Regions from separate parts of the Homo sapiens genome. Here region 2 is linked to region 1. The links are contacts of gene promoters, found by promoter capture Hi-C in blood cells and fetal thymus (Javierre and others, 2016). All regions are on one chromosome and are shown on one strand. Each heading gives the region's core, a stretch centred on a gene start or on the middle of the fragment in contact. The rest is flanking DNA. Distances are from core to core; before and after follow the strand shown. Region 1 holds the start of TMEM259 (transmembrane protein 259). Region 2 holds the start of PRTN3 (proteinase 3).

What was found. Contacts are between HindIII fragments. The CHiCAGO score rates a contact against its expected background, and 5 or more counts as called.
Region 2: a contact is called between the fragment with the promoter of PRTN3 here and the fragment with the promoter of TMEM259 in region 1, in 5 of 17 cell types (monocytes, total B cells, M0 macrophages and 2 more). The highest score is 8.1, in monocytes.

The regions. Positions count from the first base shown.
Region 1 is chr19:1,015,757-1,022,372 of GRCh38, reverse strand. It overlaps TMEM259 (transmembrane protein 259), which reads left to right and starts at 1,250. Exons shown (of 11, transcript NM_001033026.2): 1 at 1,250-1,601. The coding sequence starts at 1,377. RNU6-2 (RNA, U6 small nuclear 2) reads right to left here and starts at 851; the gene lies at 745-851. RefSeq lists silencers at 1,059-1,168, 1,329-1,398, 1,429-1,488, 3,747-3,966 and an enhancer at 2,764-3,363. The HindIII fragment of the contact is 5,187 bases long and covers 1-4,744 here.
Region 2 is chr19:837,516-844,131 of GRCh38, reverse strand. PRTN3 (proteinase 3) reads right to left here and starts at 3,133. Exons shown (of 5, transcript NM_002777.4): 1 at 3,063-3,133; 2 at 506-671; 3 at 98-239. The coding sequence starts at 3,123. The HindIII fragment of the contact is 23,301 bases long and covers 1-4,661 here.

The DNA.
Region 1 (6,616 bases), core at 1-2,500:
AATAGCCGGGTGTGGTGGCGGAAGCCTGCAATCCCAGCTATTCAGGAGGCTGAGGCAGAGAATTGCTTGAACCCAAGAGGCGGAGGTTGCAGTGAGCCGAGATCACGCCACTGCACTCCAGCCTGGGCGACAGAGTGAGACTGCGTCTCAAAAAAAAAAAACAACACAAAACTTTTTTTTGGCGGGCTTGGTGGGTCACACCTGTAATCCCAGCACTTTGGGAGGCCTAGGCGGGCAAATCACCTAAAGTTAGGAGTTCGAGACCAGCCTGACCAACATGGAGAAACCGTCTCTACTAAAAATATAAAATTAGCCTGGAGTGGTGGCGCATGCCTGTAATCCCAGCTACTTGGGAGGCTGAGGCAGGAGAATGGCTTGAACCCGGGAGGCGGGGGTTGCAGAGAGCCGAGATCGCGCTTCTGCGCTCCAGCCTGGGCGACAGAGCGAGAATCCATCTCAAACAAACAACCAAAAAACCCAAAAACCATAGTATCCTCTTGTGTACGCAGCCGGCACTCAGTAAGTGCCCCTGAAGAGCACTTATTTATTCATTGCTGCGCGAAGCTACGGGGGCAGGTGGCACAGCGCCACGCAGGAGTAGAGACTGCCAGATTGTTCTACCGCCAACCTTAGTGGCGCCACAGGAGATGGACACGGGAAGACTATGACGTTACTGGCCCTGTGACGTCATGGCAGGATCCGGGCAAGAGAAGCCAAACGAGGTGACGAGCTGTAGACTACAGCAAAAATATGGAACGCTTCACGAATTTGCGTGTCATCCTTGCGCAGGGGCCATGCTAATCTTCTCTGTATCGTTCCAATTTTAGTATATGTGCTGCCGAAGCGAGCACGACTCAAGGGTTACTGTCACACCTATTTTAAGCCCTTCAATCAAATCATCTTTTGGTTAGGATAACTTATGGTCGGTTTCATATTTAGCATAATTTCCTACAGTGGTATGTTGCAGAACAACTTTCGTGCTTACGCTTACTTTGATGTCTTCGATCACGTAAAATCCCATATCTTATCGTAATTTTACCGCCTTATACTGGCCTCATAGCCGCGGTGGATTGTGGGTGCCAATATGCAAAAGAGGTGGCCCAGATGCAGGCCCGCCCCCTGGAGCGGCCGAGGTAGGGGGTGAGGCCTCCGCGGGCGCCGCTGGCATCCCAGCGTTCTCTGCGGGCGCAGGGGGGCCGCTCTTGCCCGGCGTGGCGACTCGCTAGCGTCAGCAGCGCCGCAGCCGGACGAGAAAGCGGAAGATGGCGGCGGCGGCCGGGAGGCCGTGAGGAGAGCGGCGGCTGCGAGGGCGGCCGATGGCGGCCGGGAGGCGCCCTCGGACACTTGCGGGTCGTTAGGGCGCGACGCTGGGAGGCATGTCGGAGCACGTGGAGCCCGCAGCTCCGGGGCCCGGGCCCAACGGCGGCGGCGGCGGCCCGGCCCCCGCGCGCGGGCCTCGCACCCCCAATCTCAACCCCAACCCCCTCATCAACGTGCGCGACCGGCTCTTCCACGCGCTGTTCTTCAAGATGGCTGTCACCTATTCGCGGCTCTTCCCGCCCGCCTTCCGCCGTCTCTTCGAGTTCTTCGTGCTGCTCAAGGTGACCGCGGCCCCGACCCCCGACCCTTGACCCCAGCGGCTGTCCCGACCCCCAAGTCTGCTACCTCCGACCGCGACCCCTGGCCCCGCTGGGGACAGCGAGCGCCACCCTGCACCCTGAGGCCTATACCCGGCCCTACCGATTAGGGCTCTCCCTCGCGACCTCTGACCCTGGGATTGGCCAGGGACACCGTCTCGTGACCCCATCCCGCCCGGGGACGTCCACCCGGGAAGGCCGGATCCCGCTGCACTAGAAGCCGCTGTTCTCTACTCTGGAAACCTCACTGTCAGCTCCCTCCAGGGCCCATCCTGTCCCCGGCGACCGCCTTTCCCAGGTCCCCACCTACCCAGGCTTGGAGTCCGGTCCTGGCCTGCGAGGTAGCACCTCCCGCCCTTTGACCCCTGACTGTGCCGCCTGAGACCCTCAGTTCCGAGGCCTCTCTCCCCTCCCAATGTGCTGGCCCAGAACCCAGCCTGACGCAGGTCTCCCTCGGACCAACCCCTGTCCTGGAAGTCGACTCCCCACTCCCCTCTCTCCCTCCTTGTAGCCTTTCAGCTGCGTTCCCCGCTCCTGAGCCTCAGGGGAATGTGACTTAGCTGAGGTCACCTCGCTAGGGTTAGCGGCAAAGTCACCGGCAGCAGCGTACCACCCCATCCCCGGCCTCTTCCTCCGCTGGGTCCCCACTCCCTTCCTGCTTCAGGAGCTCAGGTTGTGGGTCTGTCGCCCGTGCCTCCCCTATGAGGCACCGGCCTCCGCGTCTTGGGCTCTGTCCCCCTCCCGCCCTCCTCAGATGGCAGAGGTCTCAGCCGTGCAGGACAGGCATCGGCCTGACTCCCTCTGAGAAGGAGTCTTGCTTGGGTGACAAGAGGGGCTCAGTAGCAGCTGCAGCCCCTCAGAAAACAAGCTGGCCGGGGTCCTGGGCCACCTGGCGAAATGGGGACGTGGCCGTTTTCGTTCTGCATCAGAACACCGCCGCGCCGGGGCTTGGGGGCTGCTGAAGTTGCGCCGTGAGCTTTTTGGATCTAGCCTGCAAAGAGGGGTCCGATGCTGGCGGGCCAGGCTGCGATCGTGGGCAAGTTCCCAGCCTGACACAGGTTGGTCAGGAGCTGGCTGCTTTTTTGGGCTCGGCAAGTGGAGCTGGACCTTGGCCGTCCTGCGGACCTGGGTGTGGGTCCCAGCCTGCTGCCACTTCACGGAAGGCCCCCCAGCCTCCAGATCCGTGCCTCCCCAGGCCAGAGCTCAGCCCATCATCCTTCCCACCTTCCTCCCTGCAGCCCCCCAGAGTGGCATGGTCGCCTCAGTAGGCACCTGAGCAGGGCTGTGAAGGGTTACGCAGGCAGGCGGCCTTTCCCGGCTCTGGGGTCCACAGACGGGGCCTGAAACTGTGGACGGAGGCTGGTCTGTGGACGTGGGTTTTCCTTCCATGGAGTAGCCTGGGAACAGGATGGAGCCACTGTGTCCTTAGGCTTGTGGAGGGTGTGTGCTGGGTGCCAGGCCAGGTTCCCCCGACGGAGCTCAGCCTCCTTGGGAGGTGCATCCCTGTCGCCTGGGCCCTGGTCCCACCATGTCCCGGTTTGGAAAGGGATCAAGCCTACCCGGCTCCATCTCCAGGCCAATACCACTCACAGGTGGTCAGATGGGGCTGGGCCAGAGCTGGAGTTCCCCGTCTTCTGTGTAGGGTGGAGACTCTTGGGAGGTTCTCAGTAACCCCAATCCCTCCTCTCTCAGCAGAGGGCTTTGGACTGTGAGATCTCTGGGTGGTGAATTTTTTTTTTTTTTTTTTTGAGATGGAGTCTTGCTCTGTCACCCAGGCTGGAGTGCAGTGGTTTGATCTCGGCTCACTGCAAACTCCACCTCCTGGGTTCAAGCAATTCTTCTGCCTCAGCCTGCGGAGTAGCTAGGATTACCGGTGCCCACCATCACAACCGGCTAATTTTTTTGTCTTTTTAGTAGAGACTGGGTTTTGCCATGTTGGCTAGGCTGGTCTCAAACTGCTGATTTCAGGTGATCTGCCCGCCTCGGCCTCCCAAAAGGCTGGGATTACAGGCGTGAGCCACCATGCCTGGCCTGGGTGGGGAAATCTGTTCTTTGTGAATTTTCCACCCGGTAATCTGGTGGCACAGAATCTGACCCTGCTGCCTTCACTTTTACTTATCTGCAAAGTGCAGGCTGGAACTGCCTGATTTCAGAGGCTGCCTTGAGTTCCAGAAGGCTCCTCTGCTTCCTGCCTGCCTGGCTTCCGGGGGTCTCCCTGCAGAGAGCCAGGTCCTCCCTGGTATGATCCCTTCAAGGTGGCTTCATCCTGTGGCATCTGTGCAGCTGAGCTCCCAGCCCTGAGCTGGCATGGAGTCCCCCAGCTCTCACCCATGCCTGGGTGGCTTTAGGAAATGCCAGGATCTCCCAGCTCTGAGCCAGCATGGAGCCCCCCGGTCCCTCATCCATGCCTGGGTGGCTTTAGGAAATGCCAGGCAGTGCCAGGTGCTGGGGAGAGAGGAGGCGGCAGGGGCCTGTGTTCCAGGGGCCCTCGGGAGACCTCCATCCAGCCTCAGTATCCACCTCTGCTGGCCTTCATGGCCCTGAGCCCAGTGTGGCAGAGACTGTCCATCTTGGGGCACTGGGTGCCTGCACCTGTGCGGTTGGGCTCTGGACCCAGGTGACCACCAAGTGGATGCCCACAGGGTGAAGGGGTCTCGACTCAGCACCCCTGGACATGGGCAGGGGCCCGCGCCTAGCCACAGGGAGTAATGGGGCTCCTCTTGTGGGGTCGTGACGATTAAAGACGGGGTATGTGAGACCCCAGGGGCCCTGCTCTGAATGGGGGACCTGTCACATTGAGGCCACTGTGAGGCTGCAGTGGAAGGAGAGGCCCCGGTGGCCTGGAGGCAGGAAGCACCCCGGGTGGACAAAGGGGAGCCCCAGGTAGTGTTTCCTGGCTGGGGCTGAGGGCTCTGTGTCCCACCTGGGAGGAGAGTGTGGCTCCGCGGGCTTGTGTGTCCGTCGGTCTGTGGGTCAGTCAAATACCCAGAGAGCGGGCAGGCTGCTCCTGGCACTCCAGGTCTGTGGGGAGACAGGAAAGGAAAGGCCCACCCAGTGGCCGAGTGTTGGGGTGCCCTGAGAGCCTCGGCCAGAACATCCAGGAAGCTTCCTGGAGGAGGCGGTGAGCACGGCCCCAGGCTGGGGGAGGTGCTCCTGTGGGTGCAGCCGTGTGTGGGCTGACCCGGAGGAAGGAAGGGTCATAGGGGTGGGGTGACTCCTGTGCTGGGTGGGCAGGGCCTCCTGGAGGTGAGCCACAGCCAGTGGGATGGGGTGGGGTGTCCAGGCAGCTGGAGAGCGTGTGGGAAGGCCGTGGGGCTGGAGCATGTGGGTGCCTGCTGGGGAGCCTGGGTCAGGGACAGGGTCATGGAGTGTAGGGGACTGGACCACCCAGGGCATGCGAGTGGCTGAGCCAGGTTGCGGGCAGAGGGTGGCCAGGGGCCCATGGGAGCATTTGCAGGTGAGCTCCCTGGGGAGGGTTACTGTGGGCGTGGACGAGGCTGCCTGGGCGTGTGGCTCAGGGCCGGGCCTGGTGAGGTGGCTGCTGCAGGGTGGCTGATGACAGACAGGTCTTGGGGAGGAGGACCCGGGACTCGGGATGAGCCTGCGTCTGGCTGGGTGGTGCCTGCTCCTTGTTTTGTGGTGGGAGACTGAAGGGGAGCTGAGGCTTTGGCGGCAACGGGCCTTGTCCAGTGGGGCATTTTTCTGGTCATGCTCAGTCAGGGAAGAGGGGCCCTGAGCTCGGTCAGCACGGAGCACCTGATGGGGCAGAGACACAGTGACGTCTGAGTCATAGCGTCTGGTGGACTTGAAGTCTTTGACTGGAGTGTGTGCACATTGTGTGAAAACACTGGTGCCCTCTCATCACGTCCGCTGTCTTCATGGGACGGGTCACTCACACCAGTGCTGGGTGTGGCAGGATGTGTGTCCTGTGCCCTCTCCCGCTGACCCTGGACCAAGCTGACCCTGCCCAGGGCAACCCCAGGAGCTGCTCTTCCCCGTGGGGCCTTAATTGTGCAGACTGGCACTGCCCTGGCCCCTCCCTCCTGGCCATGTGACCTCAGCAGGTCCAGGTCTGTCGGGACCTCTGTGTCAGTTCCTCGTATATAAACCAGGGATGGTAACAGCCGTGCGTCCCTTGTGAAGCGTTGGACAGCCCCGACCTCGGCCCACTGTGTATCAGCACTTTTTGGAACATCTTGGCACAGGGTCCATTGCTGTCCTGGGCACAGCTCCTGCTGGATGTGTGGGCCTGGAAGGCAGAGCGTGGCCACCAGCAGCATCCACCATGGGCCTCGCGGGCCCCTCTCTCCTGAGAGTGCTGAGCCGAGGGGCTGTGGGGTCAGTGTCTCTGACCGTGACCCACCACTGGGCCCAGCCTCCGTGGCTCCTGTCCCCAGATGCCATATGGGGAAACGCTAGGCTTTGAAAGCATCTCAGGCTCCGGGGCTGCCCCCCTTCCACACTGCCCTCCCTGTCTTCCCCAGGACACAGGGGAACCCTCCCCAGCAGAGGGCCCTGCCCCCTCCCCCCGCCCACCCCTCATTTGTAGCTCCGGCGTCTGTGGGCGGGGCCTGAATGCCTGGCGGTCAGGGTTCTGCTCTTGCCTGTTTCTGCTTAAATCTCAGCGCCGGGCCAGCCTTCATCCCCTGCGGCTCTTTTGGCTGTAAGGACTAGAAATGCAGTTCAGATCAGCCCAAGGGATTCTCCAGCTCCTGGGGCTGGGGAGTGTGATGGGGCTCGCCCCAGGTGCACGTGCGGCTAGACCCAGGGCTTTATCCGTGCTCAGACTCAGGGCCTCCCACAGGTCACAGCACTGCGGCCGGGCTGGAAGTGGGTTGCTTTGCTGACTCGGCCCTTTGCTCAGTCTACAGAGGGTTCTGGAGAGGAGGCCCCAGCTCACTGTGGGCGTGGAAGAGTTGAGGCTCCTGGTGGTCTTGCCTATGGCTGTGCGGCCACAGGTGGCTCACTGCACCCCGGGC
Region 2 (6,616 bases), core at 1,884-4,383, 180 kb after region 1:
TATACAGTGGGTGCTCAATGAATGCTGGCTGCAGGAATGGGGGTCCCGGAGCCCTCTGGCCGTGCCCCTCCGAGCCCTCGCGGCCCTGCCCGCCCACCTGGATGAGGAGAACGTCGTTCAGTTTGTTCTCCGCGTCGTAGTTGTTCAGAAACACCTGAGCCACCGAGAAGTGCTGCTGGGTGGGCTCCTGCGTCCGCACGTTGTGGGCTCCGAGCACCACGTTCACCAGGCGCTGGGGTCTGCGGGGGTGGGGTGGTCACTCCTCGGCGCCCTGGACACTCGCCGCCGCCCACAGCCGGCCCTTCCCGAGGCCGCGGTGCAGCCCCAGACCCCTCCCTCGGCGACCCTGCCCCGGGCCTCCCCCCAGAACTGCCCACGCGCGCGGGGCCTGGGGTCTGCAGACGGGGCTTAGCTGGGTCCTCCCCGGGCAGAGGGACAGTGGCCGGGCCAGGGCTGGAGGAAGAGGGCGGGGCGGGCGGACAGGGGTGTGGAGGCGGCCGCTCACATGTCCCGCAGGCAGTGCGCGGCCGTCAGCACGAAGCTGGGGTGGATCAAGGTGCCTCCGCAGAAGTGGCTGCCCGGGTTCCCCCGCATCTGCAGGGAGGCCATGTAGGGCCGGGAGTGTGGCTGCGCCTCGTGCCCGCCCACGATCTCCGCAGCTCGGGCAGCACCTGCAGGGGGGGAGTCCAGGCGTCAGGGAGCCCCCAGGCTGCAGGGAAAGGGGGGATGGCAGAGCAGCCCCTGGGCCTCTCCGAGCCTCCGTCTCCCGATCTGCAACCCGGTCAGTGCCTGCTGGCTGGTGGGAAGGACTCAGCGCCCAGGCCGGGGGGGTTATAATTACGACGATTTCCAAAGGCGCCCTGGTGGCAGCTTTCAGTCCTGAGAGTCAGGAAGGCTTTTAAGACGCAGACCAGGTGGCTGGGTGCAGTGGCTCACGCCTGTAATCCCAACACTTTGGGAGGCCGAGGCAGGAGGCTCCCTTGAGCTCAGGAGTTCAAGACCAGCCTGGGCAAAATTGTGAGGACCCCATCTCTACAAAAAATTTTAAAATTAGCCAGGCATGGTGGTGTGCACCTGTCGTCCCAGCTACTTGGGAGGCTGAGGAGGGAGGATCGCTTGAGCCCAGGAGGTCAAGGCTGCAGTGAACTGAGATCACACCACTGCACTCCAGCCTGGGCAACAGAGCAAGACCCTGTCTCTAAAACAAAATTTAAAAAAATGTTTTTAAAGAAGCAGAAAAATTGGTCGGGTGCGGTTGGCCCACGCCTGTAATCCCAATACTTTGGGAGGCCGAGGTGGGTGGATCACCTGAGGTCAAGAGATGGAGACCATCCTGGCCAACATGGTGAAACCCTGTCTCTACTAAAAATACAAACATTAGCTGGGCGTGGTGGCACGTGCCTGTAGTCCCAGCTACTCCGGAGGTTGACGCAGGAGAATCGCTTGAACCCAGGAAGCGGAGGTTGTGGTGAGCCAAGATCGCCCCACTGCACTCCAGCCTGGCAACAGAATGACACTCCGTCTCAAAAAAAAAAAAAAAAAAAATTAGCCAGGTGTGGTGGTTCGCACCTGTAATCTCAGCTGCCTGGGAGGCTGAGGCAGGAGAATCGCTTGAACCCAGGAGGCACAGGTTGCAGTGAGCCGAGATCACACCACTGCACTCCAGCCTGGGCAACAGAGTGAGATTCTGTCTCAAAAAAAAAAAAAAAAAAAAAAAATCCTGGGCGCAGTGGCTCATGCCTGAGTGAGACCCCATCTCAAAAAAACAAAACAAAACAAAATAAAAAAAAAGAAGCAAAAAAAAAAAAAAAAATCAGCCAACAAAGAGACCCATTTTGCAGATGAACAAACTGAGGCATTGAAAATCCCCCTCAGGTCAGGAGTTCGAGACCAGCCTGACCAACGTGGTGAAACCCCATCTCTACTAAAAATACAAAAACTAGCCAGGTGTGGTGGTGTGTGCTTGTAATCCCAGCTACTCAAGAGGCGGAGGCAGGAGAATCATTTGACCCCAGGAGGCTGAGGCTGCAGTAAACTGAGATTGCACCACTGCACTCCAGCCTGGGCGACAGAGCAAGATTCCGTTTCAAAAAAGAAAAAAAAAGGGCCAGGCGCGGTGGCTCACGCCTGTAATCCCAGCACTTTGGGAGGCTGAGGCAGGCGGATCACGAAGTCAGGAGATCGAGACCATCCTGGCTAACACCTTGAAACCCCGTCTCTACAAAAATTACAAAAAATTATCCAGGCATGGTGGTGGGCGCCTGTAGTCCCAGCTACTCGGGAGGCTGAGGCAGGAGAAAGGCGTGAACCCGGGAGGCTGAGCTTGCAGTGAGCCGAGATCGCGCCACTGCACTCCAGCCTGGGCGACAGGGCGAGACTCCGTCTCAAAAAAAAAAAAAAGAAAAAGAAAAAGAAAATCACCCTCAGGATAGGGACCTGAGGGGGCCCATGCTCTCTTCTTCCCCTGATTCCAGCATCACTAACTCCTCGACCCTTTCACTCACTCACTCATTCATTCATTCACTCATTCATTCGTTCACTCATTCACTCATTCACTCATTCATTCACTCATTCACTCATTCATTCACTCACTCATTGATTCATTCACTCATTCATTCGTTCACTCATTCACTCATTCACTCATTCATTCACTCACTCATTGATTCATTCACTCATTCATTTGTTCACTCATTCACTCACTCACTCATTCATTCACTCATTCATTCATTCATGCATATTCACTGAGCATTTGCTGAAGGCTGGGTGCTGTCCAGGAATTCGCCTGTTACTAGCTAATTCCCAAAACAGCTCCTCAGGAGGGAAGGGCTGGGTTTTGCCCGTTTTACAGATAGGCAACTGAGTCAAATGGCCAGGGCTCCCCCTTGCCCTTGTCCTCCCCACCCCTGCAAGCGTTGGTCCCGAGCAGTGAGTGGAGTCTCCCCTGACCCTGCCTCAGTTTCCCCAGCTGTGCCAGAAGGGCTTTGGATGGACCTCGTGGTGGATATTTCCCCACAATCCACCGGGGCCTGGAGGCTGGATGGATGGGCACGTGGCTCACTCACCGCTCAGCAGCAAGGCCAGCAGCACGGACGCCAGGGCAGGGCTGGGGGGCCGGTGAGCCATGGTGGGGTCCAGGGTGCACCCACGGTCAAGCTCCTCTTATAGCCCAATGCCAGAGGCCGTTGAGTTGCCCAATGCCCAGGCTGGGTCCCCACTTCCTCCTTTTGCCTTGGGAGCCTGGGAGTCAGAACGGACTCCGGGGAGGAGGTGGGGGCTTTGGGCTCAAGGTCCCAACCTTTGTGGGGGCGGGGAGGCTGGCTGTCACCCACCCAAGTCGGGGGTCCCTGGCCAGGTGGGCAACATGGCCACAGCCCTCAGAGCAACACATGCCCACGTGCCACCCACAAGGAGACGCCTCCCTGACGAGGTCCCTGTGGCCCCAGCAAAGCCGGCCGTGGCAGGTGTGTCCCGTGGGTGGGTGAGCTGGAAACGGACAGACAGCAGGACGTAGCAGGGGACAGGATGCAGAGCTCGGGAAGGCAGGGCCCCACCACGAGTGCCCTCAGTGCCTCACCTGAGGCCCCAGCGAACATCCTCCTGCCAGTTTTGTCTGGGGGTTTTCTTCCCCCTTTAAGGCCAGGATTCTCAATCAAGAGGTGATTCTGCCCCCAGGGGACCCTGGGCGAGGTCTGAGGACACCTGTGGCTGTCACGAAAGGGGAGCTCCTGGCATGGAGTGGGTGGAGGCCAAGGATGATGCCTAGCACCCTGCAGTGCCCAGGACGGGCCTGCCCCAGAGAAGGATCCAGCCCCGATGTCCACAGGGCCCAGGGGAGAGACCAGTGTTCATTATTTGGGGAAAAAAATGGCCAGGTGCGGTGCCTCACACCTGTAATCCCAGCACTTTGGGAGGCCGAGGCGGGTGGATCGCCTGAGGTCAGGAGTTCAAGACCAGCCTGGCCAACATAGTGAAACCCCATCTCTACTAAAAATACAAAAATTAGCTGCGCGTGTTGGCGGGCGCCTGTAGTCCCAGCTACTCAGGAGGCTGAGGCAGGAGAATCACTTGAGCCTGGGAGGCGAAGGTTGCAGGGAGCCAAGATCGTGCCACTGCACTCCAGCCTGGGCAACAGAGCAAGACTCCATCTCAAAACATAAATAAATAAAAATAAAAAATAAAAAATCCAGTCTGCCCCCTGCTCACACCGGACACCAGAATAAACTCCCGATGGGGCGTACGGCATAAACCCGGGGGACCCCAGCTCCCGGGACTCGCCTCCTCTCTCCCTCCCACTCAGGGTGTGGATTTCAATGTGTGCAGCCTCCTGGGACCTCAGCAGGGCAGAGGATCATGGGACTCAGAGTCTCTTGGGGTCTGTGGAATCCTCTAACCCTGGGGTGATTCTGCCCCCAGGGGTCCCTGTGTGAGGCCTGGAGACATCCGTGGTTGTCACGACTTGGAGGGAGCTCCTGGCAGGGCCCTGCAGTGCCCAGGATGGCCCCGCCGCAGAGACAAATCCAGCCCCCATGTCTGCAGTGCCGGAAACGGGGGAAAGCCGAGGACAGAGGATAAAATTATTTATTTATAACTGAACGGTTTAAACCTACAGTGAAATGGAGAGAAGCACTGAATGAACTTGGAGGCCAAAAAGAAAAAAAGCTTTTTAACGTTTCATTTGGAAAGGATTTCACGCTTACAGAAGTCCAAAGGGTCCAAACTCCCTCCCCGCTCCCCAAACTCCCTCCCCCGGCCTCCCTCCCCCAGCTTCCCTAAATTCTGTCCTCTTGCTCAACCCTCCAGGCTGTGATCGAAGCCAGGGCGCGAAAGTTGATTCCAAATGGCCCCCTCTGCCCCAGCCCCCTGAGTATCACCAGCCACCCTTTGCTGGGTCCTGGGTACACAAGCCACCCATCTTCAGATGTCAGGGTCTCCTCCAGCGGGCGCAGTCCCTCTGCCCTCCCTCAGCCCTTGGGACCATTGAGGAGAGCTGGTGGTCACTCTGCAGAGCGTCCCTCCGTGGGGATGGTCCTGGGTGGCCTCAGGACTCAATGGAGGGAGTCCCGGGCGTGGCGTGTGTCTGTCTCAGGCCCCCCACGTCGAAGCCCATGGCTTCGGCCTGTCTCGTGCTGATGGTAATAACCTTGACCACGTGGTCAGGGCATCTGCCGGTTCCTGCACTGTCCAGTTACTGTTTTCCCCTTTGGATTTTTTTTTTTTTTTGAGACAGAGTCTCGCTCTGTCACCAGGCTGGAGAGCAGTGGTGCGATCTCAGCTCACTGCAATCTCCGCCTCCCGGGTTCAAACAATTCTCCTGCCTCAGCCTCCTGTATAGCTGGGATTATAGACGCCCACCACCACGCCTGGCTAATTTTTTTTTTTTTTTGTATTTTTAGTAAAGACGGGGTTTCACTATATTGGCCAGGCTGGTCTCGAACTCCTGACCTCAGGTGACCCGCCCGTAATCCCGCCAAAGTGCTGGGAACACAGGTGTGAGCCACTGCACCTGGCTATATTAATGTATATAACATAGATGTATACATAAAATATGTAGCATGTATATTATTTACATTATATAATATATAATATTTTAAAATATACATATATATTTTTTGAGACAGGGTCTGGCTGTGTCACCCAGGCTGGAGTGCAGTGGTGTAATCATGGCTCACTGCAGCCTCGACCTCCTGGGCTCAAGCAATTCTCCTGCCTCAACCCCCCAAGTAGCTGGGACCACAGGCATGCTCCACCATGTCCAGCTAAAGTTTTTCTTTCTTTTTTTTTTTTTTTTTGGTTGGCTGTTTAATTTTTTGTAGAAATGGGGTCTTGCTATGTTGCCCTGGCTGGTCTTGAACTGCCAGCCTTCAGGGACGCTCCTGCCTTGACCTCCCCAAATGCTGGGATCACAGGCATGAGCCACCATGACCGACCTGATGTGTATTAAAGAACTAGAGCTGTGGGCCGGGCGCGGTGGCTCACGCCTGTAATCCCAGCACTTTGGGAGGCCGAGGCGGGCGGATCACGAGGTCAGGAGATCGAGACCATCCTGGCTAACACGGTGAAACCCCGTTTCTACTAAAAATACAAAAAATTAGCCGGGCGTGGTAGCGGGCGCCTGTAGTCCCAGCTACTCGGGAGGCTGAGGCAGGAGAATGGCGTGAACCCGGGAGGCGGAGCTTGCAGTGAGCAGAGATTGTGCCACTGCACTCCAGCCTGGGCGACAGAGCGAGACTCCGTCTCAAAAAAAAAAAAAAGAAAAAGAACTAGAGCTGTGGCCGGGCGCGGTGGCTGTTGCCTGTAATCCCAGCACTTTGGGAGGCTGAGGCAGATGGATCACAAGGTCAGGAGTTCAAGACCAGCCTGGGCAACATGGTGAAACCCCGACTCTACTAAAAATACAAAAATTAGCTGGGTGTGGTGGCAGATGCCTGTAATCCCAGCTACTTGGGAGGCTGAGGGAGGAGAATTACTTGAACCCGGGAGGTGGAGGGGGCAGTGAGCTGAGATCGCGTCACTGCACTCCAGCCTGGGCAACAGAGCGAGACACCGTCTCAAAATAAAAGGGTTATTCTCATTCAACAAAAGTGCTGTTGGTTTCAGCCATGAGTCAGCTCATGCT